2 separate regions of the Homo sapiens genome follow, and region 2 is linked to region 1. The links are contacts of gene promoters, found by promoter capture Hi-C in blood cells and fetal thymus (Javierre and others, 2016). All regions are on one chromosome and are shown on one strand. The core of a region is centred on a gene start or on the middle of the fragment in contact, and the rest is flanking DNA. Distances in the headings are between cores, read along the strand shown. Region 1 holds the start of PCDHGA12 (protocadherin gamma subfamily A, 12). Region 2 overlaps DIAPH1 (diaphanous related formin 1).

Region 1 (4,256 bases), core at 1,757-4,256:
CCTGTAATCCCAGCAGTTTGGGAGGGAGAAGCAGGAGGCTAGCCTGAGCCCAAGTTTCAGATCAGCCTGCTCAACATAGTGAGACTCCTGTCTGTACAAGAAAGTAATAGATAGATAGATAGATAGATAGATAGATAGATAGATAGATAGATAGGCAGACAGTAGGTGGCTTGCACCTGTAGTCCCTGTTACACCGGAGGCAAAGGTGGGATAATTGCTTGAGCCTAGGAGTTTGAGGCTGCAGTGAGCTATGATCGTACCGCTGCATTCCAGCTTGGGAGACAGAGCAATTAAAAAAAAAAAAGAAAGAAGATTTGATATAAACTCACCTCAATTAACCCATGACTGTCTTTAGAAAATACCGAATCACCTGACAGCAAAAGGGGCTCGCTTTTTTCAAAGCTCTCCTGGCTGACGAGCATGTCTGCATAGTTGGGCTGGGGGAAGATCAGGTGACTCTTCCGCGAGTCCGTGGTGAGGGAAACCTCGTGGGAATAGGTCTGCAGGAAAGCCTGCACCCCGTCCACGCCCACAAAGTGCGACGCCGGCGCTCCTGTCAAGCCGCCTCCTGAAGCCTGCAGCAGGCGTGACTTGTGCCAGCGCCGCAGCCTGAGCGCCAGCAGCAAGATGACGAAGGCCAGGAAGACGCAGGAGACCGCGGCCACCGCTACCACCAGGTACAGAGTGAGGTCTGAGGTTTCAGAGTTAGCTGGAGACTCGAGGCTGCCGAGGTCCGCCAGGACTTGGGGGATGCTGTCGGCCACGGCCACGGTGAGCGTGACAGTGGCGGAGAGAGGGGGCTGGCCGTGGTCCTGGACGGCCACTACGAGGCTCTGCTTGAGCGCGTCTCTGTCCAGCAGGGCTCGCGCCGTGCGCACCTCGCCCGTGTGCAGACCCACCGAGAAGAGTCCCGGCTCGCTGGCCTTGAGCAGACGGTAGGACAGCCAGGCGTTCTGGCCGGAGTCTCTGTCCACCGCCACCACCTTGGTCACCAGGTAGCCGGGCTCTGCGGAGCGGGGAGCCAGCTCCACGCCAGTGGAACCGTCCGTGGGGAGGGCGGGGTACAGGATCTCGGGCGCATTGTCGTTCTGGTCCAGCACGAACAGGCTCAACGACACGTTGCTGCTGAGGGGCGGGTGCCCGTTGTCCCGCGCCATCACTTTCACTTGCAAGTCTCGGAACTGCTCGTAGTCGAAGGAGCTCAGCGCATACAGTACCCCAGTGTCGGAGTTGATGGACACGTAGGACGATAGGCTTGCCCCTTGGATGGTGTTCTCAGCCAGGGAATAAGTGATCTGGGCGTTCTCTTCACAGTCGGGGTCGTGGGCGGTCACAGAGACGAGGGAAACTCCTCTGGGATTGTTCTCTGGGATATAAGCGGAATAGGAGGCCTGAGGGAAGACCGGCGGGTTGTCGTTGGTGTCTGCCACGTTCAGCGAGATATGAGTTTCCGTGGATAGGGGCGGGGTTCCCCGGTCAGTGGCGGTCACTGTGATGTTGTAGCTAGGAACCTGTTCCCTATCCAAGACTATGTCTGTGACTAAACTATAGTAATTTCCGTAAGATTTTTCTAATTTAAAGGGCAGATTTCCTTGGATGAAACAGATCACCTGTCCGTTTTCCTCAGAATCTTGGTCATTTACATTTAAAAGGGCAATTAATGTCCCTCTGGGAGAGTTTTCGGGAACCGAGCTGGCGAGAGAGGTGAGGACCACTTCTGGGGCATTGTCGTTCACGTCCAGAACAGTGATCAGGACTTTGGCTCGCGCAGAATATCCTGCATTATCCATTGCTTGCACTTCCATCTGGTAGAATCCTGACTCCTCGTGGTCCAACTCCCCTATTGTTGATATTGTCCCTGAATTACAATCTAGTTTGAAAACTTGGGCCGCCTTGTCGTCCACATACCGGAAGGAATACCTCACTTCCGCATTGACTCCTTCGTCAGGGTCGGTAGCGTTGACTACAAGCAGCTGCGTGCCCAAGGCCAGATTCTCCGGAACGCTCGCGCGGTACTCGGGCTGAGCAAACGCTGGTGCGTTGTCGTTCGCATCCAGAACCATCACGCGGATGCGCGCGGTGCCTGTGCGCACCGGGTCGCCCCCGTCGGAGGCCGTAAGGACCAGGTGGTGAGCAGCCTTTTCTTCGCGGTCCAGGGCGCGTTTCAGCACCAATTCGGGGTACTTACTACCGTCGGCTCCATTTTGCACGATGAGGGAGAAGTGAGTGTTCGGGCTGAGCTCGTAGCTCTGCAGAGAGTTCTTCCCGATATCCGGATCCCAGGCGTGGGGTAGAGGGAACCGCATCTCAGTGGCTGCATTTTCACTAATTTTTATTTCTAATTCACTTTCACGAAAGTAAGGCGCATTGTCGTTAATGTCCCTTACTTCTACTTCTACTCCATATATTTTCACTTTATCCTCCATCAGAATGTCTAGATTTAATTGACACTTGATGGCCCCCATACAGAGCTCCTCCCGGTCTATCCTGCCCGCCGTGACCAAGCTGCCGCTGCGCGGATTCAGGGCGAAAAGCTGCGTCCTACCTCTGGGGATGATGCGGACTCCGCGCTCCGCGAGCTCCCGGGGCTCCAGCCCCAGGTCCCTGGAGATGTCGCCCACCCTAGAGCCTTTCTCCAGCTCTTCCGGAACTGAATAGCGTATCTGGGTGCATCCGGTCTCCCACAGAGTCCCCAGGAGGATTCCCAGCAGGACAAGCCCTTTGTAGTCCCGGTGCAGTCGCGCAGGAATCATTCTTATCTTCCTCCAGAATTATTTTCAATTCTGCCCTTAACCACTGAAGTCAGGAGCAGTTCCTTCGCCCATAGAATGGGACAGTTGGGAAGTCAGAGCTCCTCCGTTGTTTCCACATACTCCCAGGGATGGTTCATTCCTAGCTATCTGCTTTGTGCTTCAGGCGCGTGCAAGGCGAGCAGGATCTCCGCTTTTCTCTCCCCGATTGGTGAACAGCGGCGCTCAGAGTCCTAACCAATTACTGCACAATCTTGAACTCCCAGAAAGGATATTTCGTTTTTATATCTTAAATAGCTCCACCTACTGTTCTTCAAAAGGGGATGGAAATCTACCGTATTCGCTTTAATAGAAACTTTAGTGAGCTTTTTTTTTTTTTCCCAATGAGCTTTTTTTTCCCCAATGAGCTTTTAAATGAATTGGAAGTTTCTATAAACAATGATTTTAATCTTATAATGTTAGTGCATCTGCTTTGAGATTACTGTTCCCCCAACACACCTATTATGGAGATGTCTCCCTAGGAGTTTCTCTTTTTGACAAATCATATAATATAATAATTTAAACTTTCTGATTCAGCTATAATTTGGGGAAAATATTTTTAAATAGATTCCTTGAATGATCCTGAATGGAAGGATTACTTTACCAGGTTGTTGACATGTAACGCTTAAAAATCAAATTTTCATGATATTATGGAAACCTAAAAATGATATGTGATTGTATACATTATCAGAATCACACTTAACAAGAACCCAAGTGAAAAAGAAACATTAATATTTTTAGCATAAAGTAGAAGCATTCCAACTTGCATTGACTGGAAATAATGGAAGTACTCCAGAATTCTATTAATACATTATATTTCAAAAATATTTATTGTTCAGGAAACTTAGTAAAAGAAAATTGGTAGTCCAAAGAATGTTACAGACTTACCTTTTCCTGGGTAACTGACCTAATTGTAATTACTGAGAATTACTGGTAATACTTTTGGAAGCCCATCAAAATATAGGGAAAAAATTCTCCCTAAGAAATAACTGGCTACGTACTTTCATGAGCGTAAATATTTATACTGTAAAGATATTTGCTAGGCATAAAATAAAATAATATATTTTAAATTGGGAAGAAATATATAGGTAGCTGTGAGAAAATATCAGACATAAAATTGAGTTTACTTGAATTACAAGAATCAAAAGTAAATGTAACTGAATATTATCAAATCATTACCATGTTCTTATTTTTTTAAGCTTTTTTCTCTGCCAGGCACAGTTTCAGGCAACTGTAGTCTCAGCTACTCTGGAGATTGAGGTGGGAGGATTACTGTAGCCCAAGAGTTTGAGTCCAGCCTGGGCAACATAATGAGACCTTAATCTCAATTTTTTTTAAAAAAAAAACACATTTTCTCCATTTTCTCATGCATTTTCTTCAAAATTTATAGTTAATGGATTAAAGAAAAAGCCTTATATACTCAAATATTGATGTCCCAAGAAACATCACAGGAAAAAAATTTATTCC
Region 2 (4,256 bases), core at 1,091-3,590, 100 kb before region 1:
TGCAGCCTCAATCTCCTGGGCTCAGGTGATTTTCCCACGTCAACCTCCTGAGTAGCAGGGACTACAGGTGCGCGCCACCATGCCCGGCTAATTTTTGAACTTTTTTTATAGAGACAGGGTTTTGCCATGTTGGTCAGGTTGGTCTCAAACTCCTGAGCTCAAGTGATCTGCCCACCTCAGCCTTCCAAAGTGCTGGGATTACAGGTGTGAGCCACTGTGCCCAGCCAAGAGTGAATGTGTTTTATAGTTCTTTGTACCTTTTGTATGTAACTTTTTTGTTTTAATTCTTGTTTATTTGTACCAGGTAATACTTTTCATGTGGTTTAAAATTCAAATGGTATAAAAAGGTTGTGTTCAAAAGTATTCCTCCCACTGTCGTGTTCAAACACCCCATTCCTCTGCTCAGAGGCAGCTAGCTTTGTCAGCTTCTCGACTCTCCTTTCGGGGATATTCCCATATGACTTTCTGAAAATTTGATACCAAGTTACACTATAGTACAAAGTATTTTACAATTATATCTGTCCAGAATAGTTACTTGGTTTTTTCCTATGTATTGCTCAACCCTCCTTGGATAGCCAGCATCAACCATTTTTTAGAGAATGTTACTATCATGAGAGCCATTAAGGGAGTGATACAATGAAATACTGTTTTGCCCATGCCCTTGAAGTTCAAAATCTAGGTGGGATGAGAAATATCCACACTTATTAAATAACAGAGGCTTTAAAAAGATCAAGATAATACGTATGCAATGTCACAAAACATTGAATAATTAATTGTTGGATGAGATATAGATAACAAATACCATGAAAATAAGTTTATCAAAGCAGAGAGTGAGTATCATTTATCAGGGAACGTTTCATGAGAAGGGAAGAATATGATGGCTTTGGATAGTCTGAAAAGAATGCAGAAGGCAGAAGTATATTTTACCTCAATCATAGGCAGTTGAGAAAACAAAATTTTTTTAGAGAAAGTCATGTTCAAGATGGAGCTTAAGGTAGGGCAACAGTGGCTCATGCCTGTACTCCTAGCAGTTTGGGAGGCTGAGGCAGGCAGATTGCTTGATCCCAGGAGTTTGAGGCCAGCCTGGGCAATATGGTGAAACCTCATCTCCACAAAAAATAAAAAAATTAGCCGGGCGTGGTGGCCTGCACCTGTAGTCCCAGCTCCTTGGGACCCTGAAGTGGGAGAATTATCTGAGCCCAAGAGGTCAAGGCTGCAAGTGAGCCATGATTGCGCCACTGCAGTCCAACCTGGGTGACACAGTGAGATGCTGTCTCAAAAAACAAACAAAAAAGATGGAGCTTGAAAGATAAGTTGGATTTTTAAATAGGCACAAAAGGAAGGATAACATGGTGGAAGGGGACTGCTGAACTACTACTAACCAACTGTTCTTGTGAATCAAGTTTTAATGGAACACAACCATGCCCATTCATTTATGTATTGTCTGTGCCTGCTTTCATGCTACAGTGGCAGAGTTGAATAATTGAGACCATATGGCCTGCAAAGCCTAAAATAGTTACTATCTGGTCCTTTACAGGCAGCTTGCTGATCCCTGCAAGTAGATAGGATGTAGGTAGGAAAGCATTACTGATAAATATTGAAGAAATGAAAATGAGATATTTATTAGAGTTGGGGGAGGTTCAGTAATAAAAGGGTGGTTGGTTGAAGAGGAGGTTAGTTTTGAAGGAATACAATAGACCATTATAATAGAGAGGAAGTGAGGGGCCATTTCACGCTGGACAGTAGTTGCTTGGTAAAGCACAGAGGTGGCTTACTTTTAATCATGCTTTTCTAATCTTTTCCCTGCTAGCCAAGAAGGATCAAGAAGGTGGAGAAGAAAAGAAATCTGTGCAAAAGAAAAAAGTAAAAGAGTTAAAGGTGTTGGATTCAAAGACAGCCCAGAATCTCTGTGAGTATCTCTTGGTCCCAACTATTCAAAATGTGAAGGAATTCTTTTAAGAATTTTTAATTCTCTTGAATCTATGGTCCCTTGATATGGAACTTTAATTGTTCAATTCCTGCTATATACCAACCATTGCACAGTGAATTTTCAGTATCATGTTTAATTTCTTCAATAGCACTGCAAGATTTTTAAGTATCCAGTTTTATGTCAAGGAAACAAGCTAAGACTTTTAGGAATTTGCTTAGACATAAAGCTAGTAAGAAGGAGGTCTGGGATTTGAGCCTTTTTTTTTTTTTTTTTTTTTTTTGAGACACAGTCTCACCACTCTGTTGCCCATGCTGGGGTGTAATAATGCGATCACAGCTCACTGCCACCTCAGCTTCCTGGGCTCAGTTGATTCTTCCACCCCAGCCTCCCAAGTAGCTGAGACTACAGGTGTGCACCACCATGCTCAGCTAATTTTTTGTAGAGATGGGGTTTTGCCATGTTGCTCAGGCTGGTCTCAAACTCCTGGGCTCAGGTGATCTGCCCAGCTGTGTCTCTGACTTTCTTATTTAAAAGTTCTTACTATGTCCATTGCGTTCACAGAAAGTCTACCACAGATGGTCTAGCCACTGGACATTTCCTTGCTCCCACTTTTGCTTTTTTATTAAATAAATAGAGAAGGGGTCTCGCTATGTTGCCCAGGCTGGTCTTAAGCTCCTGGCCTCAAGTGATCTGCCCACCTCAGCCTCACAATATGTTGGGATTACAGATGTAAGCTACCATGCCCAGCTTTCACTTTCTGATAAGTAAAGGTACTAGCTTGGCTTCAATTAAATTTAAAATTACTTTGTGATTTAAAATAACTAAGGTAAATTTTGTACTTCTCAGAGTAGGATCAGTAACTCCAGAGAAGGGTTCTGTTCTGAAGTTTCCACGTATACTCGTAACTCTTTGGTAGCAAAATTTCAAATGAGAAATTCCTCTGCAAAGTTGATATAGGTAGTACTTATTTGATGATCAGGACAAATGTTAAATTTTTGTTCTTTTTAATTACTCATCTACCTACTTCATACCAAGAAATATAGACTTAAATATTTATTTGACAAATATTTCAGGGTCTGCTATGTTATAGGCTCTATTAGGCATGTGTTCCAGAGATGAAAGGGTATTTTCCGTAAAACCCACTCATAGTCTTGTGATGCAGTTATTGTCCCTGTTTATCCAAATGAGAAAACCAAAGTTTAAATGATGCGAAGTGCCCAGATCACACAGCCAATAAGTACACATACCCATAAGTAAAGTCAGTGATACAATGAGACCAGTAAACTGTCACATTATTCTTGATTATATAATCTTAAATTATTGTCAATAACTATTACTACATAGTGTCTGTGGTGAAGTCTTATGGAGATTAAAGTATTGTGAGTCAGTTCCTCTTCCCAAGAGTATCTCTAGGAACATAAGACATGAGTAATTGGTTTAAAAAATGATACAAGAAAGACAATGGTGTAGTACATTATGATTTCTAGTGTTATGATATTGATATGGAAAACAGAATTTAAGAAAAGAAAATTGAGAGTAGTATAGGATAGGATGGTCTGGAAGATGGAATTTAGTGATTAAATGTCTCTCATGTGCTAATGATACAAAGCTGAATAAGACAATAGTCCCTGTCTGCATGAGCCACGTATTTGGTAAAGACAGAAAGGCAGATGATAACAGTGCAGATTAATAAATGCTATGATGGAGGTATGCTAGAATGTTTATGAGAGTACTAGGAAGGGAGGGATCTAAATCAAGTGGGGGCAGTGTTGGAGGGGCAAATCCCAGAAGATATTCTAAAGGAGGTACTACTTAAACTGAGTTGAAAGACCAATTAAGGAATTAAGGAGGCTGGGCATGGTGGCACATTCCTGTAATCCCAGCAGGAAGCTGAGGTGGGAAGATTGCTTGAGACCAAGAGTTCAAGACCAGCCTGGGAAACAAAGCAAGACCCCTGTCTCTACAAAACATAAAATACTAGCTGAGCACAGTGGCGTGTGCCAGTAGTCAACTACTCAGGAGGCTAAGGCAGAAGGATCACTTGAGCCCAGGAATTTGAGGTTGCAGTGAGCTGTGATTGCACCACTGCACTGCAGCCTGGGCAACAGAGTAAGACCCGTCTCAAAAAAAAAAACCAAAAAATTAAGTGAAGGCGGGAAGGTTGGCTTGTTTCAGGAGAGGGATCAGCATGTATGAGAGCATGAGATAACATTGTGCAGTTCAGGAACTGCAAGTAGTTGAGTACAACTGAGTAAAGTTTAAATCAGGAAAATGAGTGAGATTATCCTGTGTAATTTTTAGGAAGGCTGCTTTGGCAGTGATTTTG

The links. The method cuts DNA at HindIII sites, captures the fragments that hold promoters and counts their contacts. A CHiCAGO score of 5 or more calls a contact.
Region 2: a contact is called between a fragment that was not itself captured here and the fragment with the promoter of PCDHGA12 in region 1, in 1 of 17 cell types (M1 macrophages). The highest score is 5.1, in M1 macrophages.

The regions. Positions count from the first base shown.
Region 1 is chr5:141,429,257-141,433,512 of GRCh38, reverse strand. It overlaps PCDHGA12 (protocadherin gamma subfamily A, 12), which reads right to left and starts at 3,006. Exons shown (of 4, transcript NM_003735.3): 1 at 330-3,006. The coding sequence starts at 2,753. All of the region lies in intron 1 of PCDHGA1 (protocadherin gamma subfamily A, 1), which reads right to left. The region is part of intron 1 of PCDHGA2 (protocadherin gamma subfamily A, 2); the gene reads right to left. All of the region lies in intron 1 of PCDHGA3 (protocadherin gamma subfamily A, 3), which reads right to left. It also overlaps PCDHGB1, PCDHGA4, PCDHGB2, PCDHGA5, PCDHGB3 and PCDHGA6, and 10 more genes. RefSeq lists an enhancer at 2,971-3,110. The HindIII fragment of the contact is 4,636 bases long and covers 1-3,990 here.
Region 2 is chr5:141,531,988-141,536,243 of GRCh38, reverse strand. It overlaps DIAPH1 (diaphanous related formin 1), which reads left to right. Exons shown (of 28, transcript NM_005219.5): 19 at 1,811-1,909. Among named protein-coding and RNA genes, the nearest start is that of DIAPH1-AS1, 24 kb to the left of the region's middle. The HindIII fragment of the contact is 6,140 bases long and covers 1-4,256 here.